Regions from separate parts of the Homo sapiens genome. Here region 2 is linked to region 1. The links are contacts of gene promoters, found by promoter capture Hi-C in blood cells and fetal thymus (Javierre and others, 2016). All regions are on one chromosome and are shown on one strand. The core of a region is centred on a gene start or on the middle of the fragment in contact, and the rest is flanking DNA. Distances in the headings are between cores, read along the strand shown.

Region 1 (2,978 bases), core at 356-2,855:
TGCTCAATAAATGGTCAGAAATGAGGGGAGGCTAAAAAAAAATAATTTCGAGAACTCAAGGATCTTCTCTTTAGGCCTCCAGAGTACTGTAGTCCAGACAGAAGAAATGGTTGAGATAGAAACAAAAAGAGATGAGAGAGGTTGGAAAAGAAGTGATAGCACTAAGGTATTATTTCCCTTATCTCTAAAACCCGGCTTGGAGTCAAAGCCAATGATGTTCTACTTAGTGTTTGCCTATCTACTCTAACATTCCAAATAATAAACGAAAAAATATGCCCAGATCCCAAAAGTCTCCAGAAGAGAAACTTTGTAGTATAAACGAGGAATTTACCACAGCAGACACAAAAATACTAAAAGCACCAGACTGCCACAGCATTGTCTTAGATTTAGGAATCCAAATAACTACTAAAGTTCTAGAGAAGCAATCATGATAACTTCATAATCTTCTAAAGGAAAAACTAAAGGCTGGCTTCTTAAAAGTTCCTAACTGAATCGTTCCAGGTTTCTTTATCTCTAGTTTTGCTACACTGGACAGCTTCTGAGAGTACAGGCAATGTAGGGATTTTCCATTACAATGGTGCCAGAGACCGAAGGACAAACACATTTTTAAAGAAGCAATCAAATTCTGCCCATTGATTTTTATCAGGACGCTAAAATCCTATGAAAAGATTGTGGTCACGTGCCGATTTGGAAACTAGCAGAAAAGTTATTCCTCAAAAGAACTGTAGTCACGAGATGTGTCATCCCTTACCAAAAAAAAAAAAAAGCAATACGTCCACCAACTATTTATTAAGTTCAGCACTTAAATTTCTCATTTTGCCTTTTTACTTACCAAGTTGGAAGAAAAAAGGGAACGCGATTGTGAAACGTTAGCCAGCGTCTGAATCAGATAATGCCCCCAAAACGCCTGCAGCCTCTAAGATTGGCTTTACTTTCCGAATTCCTCACCCGAGTGGTCGTAAGACATCGAGCAAACACGTTCTGCTAGGTGGAACTTCAGAGGTCGCCAAAATCAAGTCATGGGAGCGCCTTTGTTTTCCCTACATTAATCATTCGGGTGTAGGATTTGGTTTGGGGTCTGTGGATGTGTGTCCCGGAGTGGTTGGGGGAAAGGCTGGCGTGTACGTGTGTTCCCAGGTGACCGGGTGTATTTCTCCGTGTGTATGTGCACGGGTGTCCGGGCTTTTGTATCTCCCTTTCTCCAGTGTTTGTGTGTGTTTCTGTGAGTCCCTCTCCCCAAGGGTGTGGGGACCGTCTTTCCTCCTGCGTCAGAGAGGAGGCAGGGAGACAACCAGCCGTCCTCTCTCCCGGGGCGGCCTTGTGACCCGCGCTAGCCCCGCGCGCACCGCACCCCGCCCCAGCTGCCCGAGGCCCGAGCCGCCCCCTCAGACCCCGACACCCGCGCACTCCGCCCGGTCCCGAAGGAGTCCCGAGTCCCGCTCACCTCGCGGCCACACGAAAGACGACCCGGGAGCTCTGGGCCGGCCCGTCTGGGCGCAATGAGGACAGAGAGAGGGTCGGGGACCTGCACAGCAGGAGGCAGCCGCGGTAGCGCAGCCAGGCTCCCGCTCCAGCTGCTCCCGTCCAGCGCGGAGGGAACAACATGGCGACGGGCCGGGGCGGGGCCAGGGAAAAAGCGGGGCGGGGCCTGGAAGGCGGGGTCCCGCGGCCGAGACCCTGGGGGACGGGCGCGGGGAAGGTGGAGCCGAGGCAGGCGGGGCCTGGATCGTGCTTTTCCTTCGGGTCGATTGCTCCTGAAGTGTCCTCCCGTCTGCGTTCGGGCGACAGCGAGTACGAAATAACTGTCATTTTGAAAAGTTTACGTAAAGTGGAAATAAACAGACCTCATGAGCACAGTCACAGGATGTCGTGATTACAATGATAAAAACGACTAGTCAAACGGACAAAGAACAAACAGGTGGATGAAAAATGAAAACAGTTGTGATACTGTGGAAAAACAAGAACTTTTTAAATGAAGCTATTAAAACTTTCCTTTAATCTTGTTAAAATACTGCCTCTGTCATCTCTGAATAGAAAGCGATGGTGCAAAAGGTGGTATTGGAGAAGCTCTCCTTAAGTCCTTGCTTTATGTATGAAGTTGAGTGCATGGATCCTATGATACAGAACCCTACAGGCGGGAGGGACTCATAGGGACATCTCAATACGTTTTGTACGGTGATTTAGTTTGTTTATCAGAAAACCAAATACTGCGTGTTCTCACTCATAAGTAGAAGCTAAATGATGAGAACTCATGGTCACATAGAGAGGAACAAGAGACACCAGGGCCCACTTGAGGGTTGAGGGTGTGAGGAGGAAAAGGAGCAGAAAAAAACTAGGTATCAAGTACTATGCTTATTACCTGGGTAACTAAATAATCCGTACACCAAGCCCTTGCAACAGGCAGTTTACCTACATGACAAACCTACACATGTACCCCTAAACCTAAAATAAAAGCTTTTTAAAAAAGATTTAGTCTGTTTATTTTCCAAGACAAAGATCTCACTTTTATGATGCTGGGGCTCACAACAAGTTAAATAATCTCCAGCTTTTTGGGGAGTCATTTTCAGGTAATGACTTTTCATTCAGCACTAGAAAGGTCATGTTTGAGAAAGTTCCTCACAAATTAAAAAGGCAATTTTAGAATGCTTCTGAAAACGACACATAAGCTTAAATAATTGTTTTCTCATAAACAGAAATCTATTTCTTATCTGCAGGTCATTTCCCCAAGGAAATATGTATAAACGTTTATAAAATACAAATCTGTTAAATTGGGGGGAAGAAGAAATATACACTATCTTGTTTTAAAACACATATTAAAAGTACACAGTAAAACATTATATATGAACACTAGAGTTAATTTTCCAATAGAAAAAAAAGTCATGTACATTGGGTCAAATTGCAACAAGCAATCCACAGGGTAATTAAAGAAATGCCACCTGAAAATCGTATATCCTAACCATAGTCAAGGAGTGATCAAA
Region 2 (2,978 bases), core at 188-2,687, 2.0 Mb before region 1:
CTCTTGTTCCTCAAACTCATTGGTCACCCCAAGATGACAGACCCACTTGCTTTCACTCACATTCACTTTGCGCTTCTGCCCGCCCACCAGCCACATGGACTTTAGTTCTTCCAACTCCTGCCTTTCCCTCTGGCCTGTGCAGATGCCCTTCCTTTCCTGGACTCTCCCTCCATCTGTGACTGGTGAATCCCTACCCCCACTTCAGGTGACTGACACCAGCGTCACTTCCTCTAAGCTCCCCCGACCACAAGCTCACCAGGTCAGCCCAGAACTGCTTTGTGGTCACAGTGCTTATCACAGTCGAATTAATACCTCACCAGGAATGTACTTTATGACTGCATCCTCTCCAGTATCTAAGCCCCATGGTGGTAGGGACCGTGTCTGCCTTGGTCAGAGCTGCATCTCTTAGGGACACAGTGCCTCATTCAAAATGGGTGCTGGGAGTACTAGCCAACTGACCCGAGTAGGCTCCCTTGGTGACAAAGATGTTGGTCCGCATTTCAAGAACTAAGAACTGTGCCATGACTGCCAGCATGCTCTGAGACAGTACTAGGGGTCTTTCCTTTTCTCAAACGTCATCACCCATTTGTAGGGATGTCTATACTTTTAAAACACTTTTAAATATTTCTCCTTTGAGAGGAGGGTCTCATACCCCTATCTAAAAGATCCAAAGGACCCCCCAAATCCTGCCTGATCTAAAAAGAGGACCCTCCCTGAGTATGAACCTCATCTAGTCTCACAGGGCTGGGATTCTGCCAGTTAGCACTTTCATTTCAAAATGTATTGTCATTTCTTTTGCTCCAAGCACAGTGGTGGGTGCTATGATGCAAAGATGACCAAGACTTGAACTGTACCTTCCAGGTATGTAATTTCTCCCTTAGGAGCCTCCTGAAATGCACATAGTATGGGTAAGAGAAACACAGAGCAAACCAGTTTGCAGCAGGGTGTTTTTTGCCACCTCAGATTCTGCCTTCTCTTGCCAAAAGAGGGGCTCTCAGCAGTATGGCCATGGTGGGGTAGTGGTGGGGGTTGGGGTAGGTGGGAATGGGTGGCAAAAGGCACAAATGTAGAAGTTGAGGGGCACTAAAGACACATTTCCCTTACAAATCTGAACTTTATTTCTTTACACCATCTTTCCAAGAAGAATGTAAGATATAAAACCCACATCATGGTCCTCAGTGATGCTGAGAAAGGAGGCAAACGTGCTTTCATCCTCCCCTCTCTTTGTGCACATTCATGCTAGTAATTGGCTGTGAACTAGCTCTTCTCCTCTGTACTGCTGTCCTTGATCCTGCTCCATCTAAGCTAGAGAGAAGACTACACCTACGTGAAAGGAGCGAGAATCATCTCTATGTGCATTGTGAAATAAAGCACAGCAGGATGAGAAGCCAGTCTTTTGGCACAGTGCCATGCGCTTTGCTTTGCATATGCATCACTTTGCTAATGTGCGCTGAACTCAGGGAGCCAGAGATGTGCAGCCATTACATTAAAGGGGACTGGTAGGAAGTTAGTGAATCCTGTGGAGGTTCCTTACCTCTAGGCTTGACTCCCTACCGGAGGTCTTTAGGCCAATGTATTAGCTCGTAAGAAAGTACCATAGACTGGTTGGCTTAAAAATTTTTGTTGTCTCATGGTTCTGGAGGTTAGAAATCTGAGGTCCAAGTTCTCTGCAGGGTTGGTTCCTTCTGAGGGCAATGAGCGCTCTGTTCCAGGCCTTTCTACTTGGATGGTTAATTTTATGTGCCAACTTGGGTAGGTCATGGTACCCAGATGTTTGGTCAAATACCAGTTTAAATGTCACTGTGAATGTATTTTTTAGATAAGATTAACATTTAAATCAGTAGACTTGGAATAAAGATTATTACCCTTCATGTGGGTGGGCCCTACCCAATCCGTCGAAAGCCTTAAGTTGAAAAAGACAGGTCCCCTGAGGAAGAGGAAATTCTACCTCCAGACTGCCTTTGGACTGGAGCTGTGCCATGGCACCAGTTTGTGCTCACAATCCAGTCTGAATGTGTCCCCAAAGTTCACGTTTTGGAAACTTAATCTGCAACGCAAAAGTGTTGGGAGGTGATTAAATCATGAGGGCCCTCCCCTCATGAATGGATTAATGCCATTATTAGGGGGAGCTGGTTAGTTTCTGAGGTAGTGGGTTCCTGATATAAGGATAAATTTGGCTTCTTTCCCTTCCCTCCCTCCCTCCTTCTTCACCCCCAACCACTCCCACCCCTCACATGCACATGTTCTTGCCCTTCTGCCTTGTGCTATGGGATGATGCAAGAGAGAGCCCTCACTAGATGCTGAGCAGATGCTGGCACCATGCCCTTGGACTTCCCAGCCTCCAGAATCATGAGCCACATAAATTTCTGTTCATTATAAATTATCCAGTGTCAGGTATTCTGTTACAGCACAAAACTGAGTAAGACAGGCTGTAATATCAATTCTTCCCTGGTCTCCAGTCTGCTGGCCTGCACTGCAAATTTCACGAGCCTACATTCACGAGCCAATTTTTAAAAATAAATCTCTCTCTAAACACACACACACACACACACGCACAAGCACACACACAGGCACACCCACACATACATACATACACACACACATATATACACATACACACACACAATTGGTTTTGTTTCTCTGGAGAACACCTAATAAACCTTGCTTCTGGTAATTCCTTGGCTTGTGTCAGCATTAAATCCAATTTTCGTAAGCCATTCTCATCTTGTCTGTGTCCAAATTTCCCTTTTAATTAAGGACACCAGTTATATTGGACTAGTGGTCACCCTAATGACCATAATTACCTTTATACAGACCCAATCTCCATATGAGGTCACATTCTGAGGTACTGGGGCTTAAGACTTAAACGTATATGAGTTTGAGATGGGAGGGTGCAATTGAACTCGTAACAGCCAGTGACACCTAAAGTATGTCTGCGTTGCCTAAAAGGTGCTGACAATTCTCAAACCAAAGTTAAA

What was found. Contacts are between HindIII fragments. The CHiCAGO score rates a contact against its expected background, and 5 or more counts as called.
Region 2: a fragment that was not itself captured here is called in contact with the fragment with the promoter of RAB9A in region 1 in 1 of 17 cell types (total CD8 T cells); the score reaches 6.6 in total CD8 T cells.

What each region holds. Positions count from the first base shown.
Region 1 is chrX:13,687,755-13,690,732 of GRCh38, reverse strand. RAB9A (RAB9A, member RAS oncogene family) reads right to left here and starts at 1,605. Exons shown (of 3, transcript NM_004251.5): 1 at 1,445-1,605. RefSeq lists silencers at 1,296-1,455, 1,466-1,705 and an enhancer at 1,856-1,905. The HindIII fragment of the contact is 3,610 bases long and covers 1-2,456 here.
Region 2 is chrX:15,677,882-15,680,859 of GRCh38, reverse strand. All of the region lies in intron 1 of CA5BP1-CA5B (CA5BP1-CA5B readthrough), which reads right to left. It also overlaps the pseudogene CA5BP1. Among named protein-coding and RNA genes, the nearest start is that of CA5BP1-CA5B, 3.9 kb to the right of the region's middle. The HindIII fragment of the contact is 3,386 bases long and covers 1-2,978 here.